2 separate regions of the Homo sapiens genome follow, and region 1 is linked to region 2. The links are contacts of gene promoters, found by promoter capture Hi-C in human tissues and cell types (Jung and others, 2019). All regions are on one chromosome and are shown on one strand. Each heading gives the region's core, a stretch centred on a gene start or on the middle of the fragment in contact. The rest is flanking DNA. Distances are from core to core; before and after follow the strand shown. Region 1 overlaps ZNF91 (zinc finger protein 91). Region 2 holds the start of ZNF675 (zinc finger protein 675).

The links. Contacts are between HindIII fragments. The study calls those that stand out against the background at their distance.
Region 1: a contact is called between a fragment that was not itself captured here and the fragment with the promoter of ZNF675 in region 2, in 1 of the 25 tissues and cell types used here (small bowel).

The regions. Positions count from the first base shown.
Region 1 is chr19:23,357,620-23,363,349 of GRCh38, forward strand. It overlaps ZNF91 (zinc finger protein 91), which reads right to left. Exons shown (of 4, transcript NM_003430.4): 4 at 77-5,106. The coding sequence ends at 1,784. Among named protein-coding and RNA genes, the nearest start is that of ZNF91, 35 kb to the right of the region's middle. The HindIII fragment of the contact is 5,150 bases long and covers 1,656-5,730 here.
Region 2 is chr19:23,685,004-23,691,727 of GRCh38, forward strand. It overlaps ZNF675 (zinc finger protein 675), which reads right to left and starts at 2,209. Exons shown (of 4, transcript NM_138330.3): 1 at 2,028-2,209. The coding sequence starts at 2,030. RefSeq lists enhancers at 645-1,615, 1,747-2,136, 2,427-2,476. The HindIII fragment of the contact is 16,679 bases long and covers 1-6,724 here.

The sequences.
Region 1 (5,730 bases), core at 2,981-5,480, 330 kb before region 2:
CTTGCAGGCAGAGGCCACATGTTCGAAGAAAAATATATGAAAAAATTAAAAAAGATTTATTCGGGACTCAGAAATATATGGATTTTACTTATGTTTGTATATAAGTTTTATTATGACCATAAAAATAATCCTGTAGTCAACAACAATTTAATTGTACATTTAAAAATAACTAAAACTGTAGAATTGAATTATTTGTAATACAAAGAATAAATGCTAGAGGTAATGGAGACCGCATTTAGTCTAATGCGATTGTTATATATTGTGTGTCCGTATCAAAATATGCCACATATGGCATAATATGTACACATATTAGGTATCCACAAAAATTAAGTCAAATACATTTAAATGAGAAAATAAAAATAAAAATTTAGCCTATGGGAACAATATTCTTTAACTTAATGGCAATTAAAACTCACTGGCAAAAAAAATCACTAGAGATGTCAGTCCATTATCTTACCAAATAGTGTATTTTTACCATCTTTTACCTACACCCTTGAGTAAGGTGGAATAGGTTAAAGTTACTGGCATAATAACACTTCATTGAATTCATGATAGTATTTAACATGTTAAAACTGTTTGGTTGAAAAGTTCACATGCAATTTATAATTTAAAAATATGCTACATATATTTCATAAAAATACAATAAATCATACTAAACTTTAACTAAAATTAAGAATGTTTTTCTTTCATAATAATGCAGAATATTAATCTGAACATCTACCTCATGCATCACTCGATATTATAAGTTAACCATAAAGATCCTCTCTACTTAAATTTTCATCATGCATCTTACATTTTTAATGTCCTTACCTTTCCATAGAAAAGGTCATAAATAATGCCTCTTCATATTTGTAATGCTTTTTCAAAATACTCTTCTGTACTTTAAAGACATATTTTCTGATCAGTCGTTTGACAGTAATTACACTTCTTATTTAGTATGAACGCTCTGAATTTGAGTACGATGTGAGCAGGTATTAATGGCTTTTTGTCTATATTTGTTCACTTTTTCTCAAGCATAAATGCTTTCCTATGCATTAAGGTGTGAGCATTAGTTCAAAGCTTGGCCACATTGTTCACACTGGTAGTTTTCTCCAGTATGAATTATCTTACCTACGATCAAGTGTGACAATCATTTAGAGGCTTTGTCACATTCTTCACATTTCTAGGATTTCTCAGCAGCATGATTTTCTTGATGTTTAGAAAAGTTTGACTTGTCAAAAGCGTTGGCACATCTTTCAGGTTTGTAGAGTTTCTCTCCAGTATGAATAATATTATGTCTGTTAAGAATTCAGGACTTTTTATAGACTTTACCACATTATTCACACTTGTAAGATTTCTCTCCAATATGAGTTATCTTATCTGTAGTAAGGTGTGAAAACTGGTTAAAGGCTTTGCCAAATTTTTCCTGTTTGTAGGGTTGCTGTCCAGTATGAATTTTCTTATGTCTGGTTAGGGCTGAGGACCAGAAAAAGGATTTGCCACATTCTTCACATTTGTAGAGTTTTACTCCAGTATGAATTACCTTATGTTTAGTAAAGGTTGAAGACCGGTTAAAAGATTTGCCACATTCTTTATATTTGTAGGGTTTCTCTCTAGTATGAATTTTCTTTTTTTTTTTTTTGAGACGGAGTCTCGCTCTGTCGCCCAGGCTTGAGTGCAGTGGCGTGATCTCGGCTCACTGCAAGCTCCGCCTCCCGGGTTCACGCCATTCTCCTGCCTCAGCCTCTCGCATAGCTGGGACTACAGGCGCCCGCCACCACGCCCGGCTAATTTTTTGTATTTTTTAGTAGAGAAGGGGTTTCACTGTGTTAGCCAGGATGGTCTCCATCTCCTGACCTCGTGATCCGCCCGCCTCGGCCTCCCAAAGTAGTGGGATTACAGGTGTGATAGTATGAATTTTCTTATGGTTAGTAAGGATTGAAGACTGGTTAAAGGCTTTGCCACATTTTTCACATTTGTAGGGTTTCTCTCCAGTGTGAATTATCTTATGTTTAGTAAGAGCTGAGGACTCTTTAAAGGCTTTGCCACATTCTCCACATTTGTAGGGTTTCTCTCCGGTGTGCAACCTCTTATGTCTAGTTAGGGTTGAAGATTGGCTAAATGCTTTGCCACATTCTTCACATTTGTAGGGTTTCTCTCTAGTATGAATTCTCTTATGTCCATTTAGGGTTGAGGATGATATAAATGCTTTGCCACATTCTTCACACTTGTAAGGTTTCTCTCCAGTATGAATTATCTTATGTGTAGTAAGCTTTGAGGATCGATTAAAAGCTTTGCCACATTCTTCACATTTGTATGGTTTCTCTCCAGTGTGCATCCTCGTATGTCTAGTTAGGGTTGAGGATTGGCTAAATGCTTTGCCACATTCTTCACATTTGTAGGGTTTCTCTCCAGTATGAATTATCTTATGTTCAGTAAGAGTTGAAGATTTCCTAAAAGCTTTGCCACATTCTTCACATTTGTAGGGTTTCTCTCCAGTATGAATTATCTTATGTGTAGTAAGGGTTGAGGATTGGCTAAAAGCTTTGCCACATTCTTCACATTTGTAGGGTTTCTCTCCAGTGTGCATCCTCTTATGTGTAGTAAGGTGTGAAGGCTGGCTAAATGCTTTGCCACATTCTTCACATTTGTAGGTTTTCTCTCTGGTATGAATTCTCTTATGTTCAGTAAGGGTTGAGGACCAGATAAATGCTTTGTCACATTCTTCACTCTTGGAAGGTTTCTCTTTAGTATGAATTATCTTATGTGTCGTAAGATTTGAAGATTGATTAAAAGCTTTGCCACATTCCTCACATTTGTAGAGTTTCTCTCCAGCATGTATTATTTTATGTTTAGCAAGGGCTGAGGAGTGCTTAAAAGCTTTGCCACATTCTTTACATTTGTAGGGTTTCTCTCCAGTATGAATTGTCTTATGCTTAGTAAGGGTTGAGGAACGGCTAAAAGCTTTGCCACATTCTTCACATTTGTAGGGCTTCTCTCCAGTGTGTATCCTCTTATGTCTAGTTAGGGTTGAAGACCATATAAATGCTTTGCCACATTCTTTACATTTGAAGGGTTTCTCTCTAGTATGAATTCTTTTATGTTTAGTAAGGCTTGAGGACCAGTTAAATGCTTTGCCACATTCTTCACACTTGTAAGGTTTCTCTCCAGTATGAATAAACTTATGTATAGTAAGATTTGAAGATCGATTAAAAGCTTTGCCACATTCTTCACATTTGTAGAGTTTCTCTCCAGCATGTATTATTTTATGTTTAGTAAGGGTTGAGAGTCGCTTAAAAGTTTTGTCACATTCTTTACATTTGTAGGGTTTCTCTTCAGTATGAGTTATCTTATGATTAGCAAGGGTTGAGGAATTGCTAAAAGCTTTGCCACATTCTTTACATTTGTAGGGTTTCTCTCCAGTATGAATTCTCTTATGTTTAGCAAGGGCTGAAGAATGGCTAAAAGCTTTGCCACATTCTTCACATTTGTAGGGTTTCTCTCCAGTGTGTATCCTCTTATGTCTTCTTAGGGTTGAGGACCATAGAAATGCTTTGCCACATTCTTCACACTTGTAAGACTTCTCTCCAGTATGAATTATCTTATGTGTAGAAAGACTTGAGGAATGATTAAAAGCTTTGCCACATTCTTCACATTTGTAGAGTTTCTTTCCAGCATGAATTATTTTATGTGTAGTAAGGGTTGAGAATTGCTTAAAAGCTTTGCCACATTCTTTACATTTGTAGGGTTTCTCTCTACTATGAATTATCTTATGTTTATTAAGGGTTAAGGATTGTCTAAAAGCTTTGCCACATTCTTCAAATTTGTAGGGTTTCTCTCCAGTATGAATTATCTTATGTTTAGTAAGGGTTGAGGATTGCCTAAAAGCTTTGCCACATTCTTCACATTTGTAGGGCTTCTCTCCAGTGTGTATCCTCTTATGTCTAGTTAGGGTTGAAGACCATATAAATGCTTTGCCACATTCTTTACATTTGAAGGGTTTCTCTCTAGTATGAAATCTTTTATGTTTAGTAAGGCTTGAGGACCAGTTAAATGCTTTGCCACATTCTTCACACTTGTAAGGTTTCTCTCCAGTATGAATAAACTTATGTATAGTAAGATTTGAAGATCGATTAAAAGCTTTGCCACATTCTTCACATTTGTAGAGTTTCTCTCCAGCATGTATTATTTTATGTTTAGTAAGGGTTGAGAGTCGCTTAAAAGCTTTGTCACATTCTTTACATTTGTAGGGTTTCTCTTCAGTATGAGTTATCTTATGATTAGCAAGGGTTGAGGAATTGCTAAAAGCTTTGCCACATTCTTTACATTTGTAGGGTTTCTCTCCAGTATGAATTCTCTTATGTTTAGCAAGGGTTGAAGAACGGCTAAAAGCTTTGCCACATTCTTCACATTTGTAGGGTTTCTCTCCAGTATGAATTCTCTTATGTTTAGCAAGGGTTGAAGAATGGCTAAAAGCTTTGCCACATTCTTCACATTTGTAGGGTTTCTCTCCAGTGTGTATCCTCTTATGTCTAGTTAGGGTTGAGGACCATAGAAATGCTTTGCCACATTCTTCACACTTGTAGATTTTCTCTTTAGCACAGATTATTTTATGTGTAGTAAGGGTTGAGAGCTGCTTAAAAGCTTTGCCACATTCTTCACATTTGTAGGGTTTATCTTCAGTATGAATTTCCTTATGATTAGTAAGGGTTGAGGACCAATGAAAGGTTTTTTCACATTCTTTACATTTACAGGACTTCTCTGTAATATAAACGCATTTATGTTGGGTTTTGTGTAAACGGATGCAAAATGACTTGACACATTTTTTACATTTGAAGCATTTCTTTCCAGTATGTCTTATCGTATGTCTGTTTGAATTTAAAAATTTATAGAAGACTTTCAAATATTTCCCACATTGAAATACTTTGCTCTGGGCAGTTGTGAGACACTGGTTAAGTTTATTATAACCTTCTTTGTGCACCTTACACTCATCCACACTTTTACAACCTTTTCTTAACTGTAAATTCTCATGTCCACATTTTTCATATTTTCTCAGTAATACTTTTTGAAAAGAATCTTCCATGCTCTGCTCTGGCCAAAAGTCTTGAGGAAAATGAGGACATATACCTGAAAAAAAAAAACTAAAAATAATAAATTACTCCACTCACCTAGACTCACATGAATATAGTTTAAAAATCTTACCTACAAAATTATACAAACTACATAAACAATATGGCACTGCAAAATACCACAGGCCCTAATTCTATTTTTGTTTTTTTGTTTGTTTGTTTTTGAGACGGAGTCTCGCTCTGTCACCCAGGCTGGAGTGCAGTGGTGCAATCTTGGCTCACAGCAAGCCCTGCCTCCTGGGTTCACGCCATTACCCTGCACAGGCCCTAATTCTTTCATAGACATATATATGTAACAAAAACATACAGATCAAATTACATCTATGGAAAATTTATGAATGAGTTAAGTGTGTGCAGTGTCTCAGGGGAGCACAATGCAAAAAACCACACAGAAAAAAAAGAAAAGTCTGTTAAATTTACTTGACACAGCTTTTCCTGCTTCCCATTATAACAGAGTGCCTTTAGAAGTAAATTGCCAACTCCTGGTTTATGTTTTAAAAGAAAGGTAAAATAGTAGCCCATTCATTTTTATTTACAGCTTTTAGGGGCTTTTCCTGACACTGATTTCCCTCTCTCATGACATAAGTGTTGAAAGAAACCGTGGCATAATTTGGAATGAAAG
Region 2 (6,724 bases), core at 959-3,458:
GCTTAGTTTTTCTTTTTTTGAGATGGAGTTTCACTCTTGGTGCCCAGGCTGGAATCCAATGGTGCGATCTCGGCTCTCAGCCTCCAAAATAGCTCGGATTACAGGCAGCCACCACCACGCCCAGCTAATTTTTTTGTATTTAGTAGAGATGGGGTTTCACCATGTTAGTCAGGCTGGTCGCGAACTCCTGACCTCAGGTGATCCACCGCCTCAGACTCCCAAAGTGCTGGGATTACAGGTGTGCACCACCGTGCACGCAAGGGTTAGTTTTTCAAAGGAAGAGCGCAGGGGAGAGTCCTATCAGTCCAAGGGCATTCATCTGTTTCCATTGAGAGGCTACACTCCATACCTCAGGTTGTTTTATGAAAGAAAATAACCCAGTAGATTATATTCACTAGACACTCGAGCAGACATAGCCATGGTAGATATATTGGTTTATTCACAGAAACTACTGAAGCCCAGGACCAGAAAAAACTGAAGGTGGCTGAGGCCACATCACCCATAAAGTTTCCAAAGGGAAACCTTGACCCAAAAATATTCTGATACTATCTCTGTGCCTAGAGAAGATTTTTAAAAATGAGGCGAAAAGATTTTTTACAATACAGTATCAGGGAATTGTTCTTCTTTTTCTTCTCATAAAAAATATTTTCAAACAGAAAACGATTTTTTTAAGTGCCATTCAATGTCAAAAAATGCTTAGTTAAAATACAGTATCTAAAGTGTACAATAAAAGACAAATAGTTGATAATGTGAATTAGAAAGGGGAAGCTGGCATTTGAGAATGTGAGAAGAAACTGGAAATTTAGTATTTTACTGCAAGTCATAGTTAGTCTGGAGGAATGGGATGAGGGGTAGGCTTGAGACCCAGCTTGAGAGAACTGTGAAAAATGCAGGGGAAAATCAGTCTCCTGTGGAGTGTGAAAATAACTAAGTAGCAGGCAATTAGACGGAGGTTACTCTAGTCCCTGGGTTCCTATTTTTTAAAAACTCTAACTCAAATGCATTTTTTTGCAAATTACTGAATTGAGGGAAACAAAAATTTAGGCTTAACCAATCATAAACTGCCAATTAACCTCTGATTACATAACCAGGAAATGTCCACCTTAATTGTACAAGTCAAGTAACTATGAACTGTACCTAACCAATTATTTAATTTGGTTTTCTTCATCATGTACCTTTAAAAGTCTTTCCTTCAAGCTGCTCTCATAAAGTCACAAGCTCCAAACCACAGCTGAATGCTCCACAATTTTTGAATCACTCTTTGATTAAATTCTCCAATATTTTTGTGGTGATCCCCATAATTTATTTATTTATTTAACTTATTTATTTATATATTTTTTAAGACGGAGTTTCGGTCTTGTTAACCAGGCTGGAGTGCAATGGCGTCATCTCGGCTCACTGCAACCGCCACCTCCCGGGTTCAAGCGGTTCTCCTGCCTCAGCCTTCTGAGTATCTGGGATTACAGGCATGTGCCACCACGCCCGGCTAATTTTGTATTTTTAGTAGAAACGGGGTTTCACCATGTTGGTCAGGCTGGTCTTGAACTCCTGACCTCAGGTGATCCACCCACCTCGGTCTCCCAAAGTGCTGGTATTACTGACCTGAGCCACCGCGCCCGGCCCTCCCATAAAATTTTAATAGGAGAAAACAGGAACTGGGAACCCCACGGACCAAAACTCTTCCCATTAATGAACCCGCACCCTGAGTCAGGATTCTCCGGTGACGGCCCTCCTGTGGTCCCTGCACAATCTGAGAGAAATGCGGCGCTGCGGGTACAGAGCTGCCCAGAGAGGGCTACAGGCCAGGGCACAGTCACTAGGCAGAGAAGAGACGGGATGCCCCGGGGCTGGCTGTCAGCGCGCCGCCATCTTATGGCTGCAGGGGACTGAGCCGAGCTGGGGAAGGAGAACTCGGGGTGCAGATTGTGGAGCTGACTGCGGGGAGGCCTGAGTCCCGCCATAGCCATTTCCCACGGGTTCCAACCAGCCCCTTCCCCCTCTCGGGATGTCGCACCCGTAACTCTCACCATTTCTAGGCTTCCAGGGGGTCCTGGAGTCTTAGCTGTGGATCTCTCAATTTCTGCAGGTCACAGGCCCACAGAGGCTGGACCTCTAGGAGCAGAGGACACAGAGCAATGAAAGCGAGACCTGGAGCTCCGGCTGCAGCGAGAGACAAAGGCGCCGCCAAATCCCGGAAGCCATCTTGTCTGCTCCAGCTGCGTGCCTGATTGGACGGTTCCCAGCCCAGCGTGCCTGATTGGACAACGTTTAAGGTCCTGACCCTTCAGGCCCTGAGTGACAGAAGATGTGATCAGACACTGGGCTGAGTGAAGACTGATAGCCTGCGCTGCAGCCTTTTCAGCCGGGGCTTCCTCTTTTAGCTGAGCCAGGCCCATCCCATAGGGTATTTGTATTTAACCTTGTGTATAAGGTCATATACATTTATAAATGATATATGGCTACTCACAAAGAAAAATAATATAATAATAATTATTTTAGAATTTCAGACTTTATGACCTTCCTGGCTTCTGGTCCTTTGAGTAGGCAGCCTGAGAATTTTAAAAAGAGGCAATCCTCAAATAAAATGTGAGCCACATGTGAATTTTAAATTTTCTAGTAGTCAAACTTTAAAAAGAAAAAAACAAGTGGAATTGATTGTAACAATCTAACCCAATATATCCAAAGTACTATCATTTTAGTATGAGAGCAATATGAAATTATTGATGAAATACACATATATATGTATATATGTGTATACACACACACACACACACACACACACACACACACATATATGGAACTAAATCTTTGAAAATAACTCTATTTTACCTAACACATTGCAATTCAGACCAGCCACATTCCAGGCACCCAGTAGCCACACGTGGCCAATAGCTGCCACATTAAAATGCAGCTCTGATGTCAGGGGGGTGAAGAAGAGCCTGAACATCCCTTTTTTGCCAGAGGTGAGGGGACAGCCTCTCTCTACCAACATCTCTCTTCAATTCCAAGGAAAAAACAGTTAGTGACCATAGAAAGAACAGAGGACAGATAGAATAAAATAACCACAGGTCGACCTGTGGTTACCTCTGGTTATTTTATTAACTACTGCTGCCCACCTGTTGCTCACCTTAATTCCAAACATCAGACAGTGAACAAAGAATGATGAAGCCACAAAACAAGAAAACTCTGTATCTTCAGATCTGTCCACAGTCTTAACCTCCAATGTTTAGATATGGAGAAAATAGATTAAAGGCAAACTTATTTTGCTATTTGGCCTTGGCCCTAACGGTCAGCCTGTGGTTATCTGTTTTCTCCTGTGGTGTGGTGAACTGTGTGAGTATAAGCACCAATCACACGCAGACATGTCTACATGTATTTTTGCATTATTCAATATTCTCTTACAAGACATAAGACTTTAAGTCAAGAATAAAGGTAATGTGAGTCTTTTTTCTTGCATTGGCGCTACCCACAGGGTGCATCATGACATATTGCTAAGTTCTGCATTCAGGTTATGTGGCTCTCTTCTTTTACCCAGGCCCAGAATATTTTGCACAATAGAACATATTACTAGGCCCAACATATATAAAATGGGAGGCCCTTGCCTGAGCCTTTTTTACAGAGGGCCTTGTGACATATCTCTGCATCAATCACCTAAGAGATGCAACTGTCCATTTTTCCCTGCACTCTGCCCACAGGAAAAATTGTGACTTATCATTAAGCCTAGGTAGCAGGTGATGTGTCTCTCCTGCCTGGGCCTTGAGCCACAGAAAGCATTGTTACCTATTGCTGGGCTCAGCACCCAGGTGATGTGACTCTGCTGCCTGTGTCCTGCTGTCAGGAGAAGGTTGTAACATATTCCTATTTAGGTGATGTGACACTCCTGTCTGGTCCCTGCCCTCAGAAAATATTGTGACATATTCCTGGCCCAAGTATGAGAGTCAACATGTCCTTCGGGAACACTTCAGGACCTTTAACCTTGGGTACATCATCTCACAATTCAGAAGGGCCCTTCCAAACTCAGGAATGAGCAAGTGGCTGTTGGCTGTCTAGGTTCTCCATGAGTTCACATTTATTACTGAATTTATGTCTGCTTAAATATCAGGTTTGTTTCTTCAATTTAGGTGTATAACACTGATAACTGAGGGGTAATCATAGGTAATCTGACTTGAATCACAAAGTTTATTCAAATGGCATATCTAAAAAATTTTAGTACTGGTTTATTTAACACAAAAATGTGTCAGAGGCCAGGCGCAGTGGCTGATGCCTATAATCCCAGCACATTGGGAAGCCAAGGAGGGCAGATCACGAGGTCAAGAGATCAAGACCATCCTGGCCAACATGGCAAAACCCCGACTCTATTAAAAATACAAAAATTAGTTGGGTGTGGTGGCACATGCCTGCAGTCCCAGCTACTCGGGAGGCTGAGGCAGGAAAATCGCTTGAACTGGAGAGGCGGAGGTTGCAGTGAGCTGAGATCACGCCACTGAGACTCCAGCCTGGTGACAGAGCATGACTCTGTCTCAAAAAAAAAAAAAAAAAGTGGCAGAGTATTTTCCTGATGTTCAACTATTTTTGTTTTTCCTGAATTAGCAGTTTTATGAATCAGTGTGTTCTTTAGAATTCTCACAATCCTTACCCAGTCCAAACAATATAATTTTAAAATTATCAGAAACCTGTACTCAACTTGTCTGGGCTATTTTCATCTTTTCATGAATCTCCTTACAGACACAGTACTCTAGGATTTTGCATGTTTTTGAAGTTTGTAGAAACTACATCAGAATTAAACCATTAACTGTAGAAATGACTTCAAATAATTATAAAGAAACAAATGAAACAAACTTATTATGTCTGTGACCTGCAATAACTTATCATAACCATAATTATGACTAATAGCTTATACTCAGATATATAAGATTTTTAGAAATTTCATAATATTATGAAATAAATGTTAATATATATTAAAATAGAAGTTGAAGAAGATCAAACATTATCTTTAATTCAACAATGCTTTTCATGTAATTTAACATATCAAATAATTACGTTTTTTACTCTTTTGGATGTTGCATAGACCCTCTGTAGCATCCAAAAGTTAGGGGTCTAGGCCGTGCCCAGTGGCTCACACCTGTAATCCCAGCACTTAGGGAGGCCAAGGCAGGTGGATCACCTGAGGTCAGGAGTTTGAGACCAGCCTGGCCAACTTGGTGAAACCCTGTCTCTACTAAAAATACAAAAAATTAGCTAGGCGTGGTGGCAAGCCGCTGTAATCCCAGCTACTTGGGAGGCTGAGGCAGGAGAATTGCTTGAACCTGGGAGGTGAAGGTTGCAGTGAGCCGAGATCATGCCATTGCACTCCAGCCTGGGTGAAAGAGTGAGATGCTGTCTCAATAAAAAAGAAAAAAAAAGTTAGGGGTCTAATAATACATAAAATTTGTGTTCAAGAGAAAATTGTTATACTTTTTAATTAGTGTATTATCAATGGTAAAGCTAATTTTAATAAAACCTTACAAGTAAATTCATCAAATTTGTCATTTTTGGCCAATCTAGATTTCCATAAATATGTTATAATCTCTCATAATCATTTAAACTTTTTATATTTTATTTTTATCTACTATTTTATTTTTTCAATTTGACACAACCATTAAGTAATTTCAAACTACACTAAATGTTTCTAACTTCCTTCATCAAAAGCATTTTTTGCTTTCGTTTCTACACTCTATGCAGAATTGTTTTTCGTACATCTAATTGATTTAATTATATATAAATCACATTAACTCTTTTTTTTTAAGATGGAGTCTAGCTCTGTCACCCAGGCTGGAGTGCAATGGCGGGATCTCAGCTCACTGCAACCTCTGCCTCCTAAGTTCAAGCAATTCTCCTGGCTCAGCCTCCAGAGTAGCTGGGACTACAGGCGCATGCCACTATGCCTGGCTAATTTTTGTATTGTTAGTAGAGATGGGGTTTCACCGTGTTAGCCAGGATGGTCTCAATCTCCTGATCTCATAATCCTCCCGCCTCAGCCTCCCAAAGTGCTGGGATTACAGACATGAGCCACAGTGCCTGGCCTCATTAACTCTTAACAACCTTTTAGTGAAATTCCTAGGAAGCAATTTTGAACTGTTTCAGTATTTGTAGACAAAATTTATTTTATATTTTAAATAAATATTTTTTAAATTTTTTTAAAATAACAAATCTAAATATATTTAGCTTTTTTATATTACATAAAAATAAGATTCTGATCAGGCATGGTGTCTCATGCTTGTAATTCCAGCACTTTGGGAGACCAAGACAGGAAGGCTGTTTAAGCCCAAGAATTCAAGTCCAGCTGGGGCAACATGGCAAAATCCCATGTCTACAAAAAATACAAGAATTAGCTGGGCATGGTTGCCTGCACCTGTAATACCAGCTATTCAGGAGGCTGAGGTAGGAGGACTGCCTGAGTCCAGAAAGTTGAGGCTGCAGTGATCCATGATGAGGCTATTGCACCCCATCCTAAGTAATAGAGTGAGAACCTTTCTTTAAAAAAGGCCAAAGCACATGAACTTAATGTTATGGGGTTTTTTTTGGTTTATTATTATTATTTTAATAGTTTTGGGGGTACAGGTTATGTTTGGTTACATGGATAAGTTGTTTAGTCGTAATTTCTGAGATTTGGGTGCACCCATCTCCTGAGTAGTGTACACTGTATCCAATGTGTAGTCTTTCATCTCTCACCCACCTCCTGCCC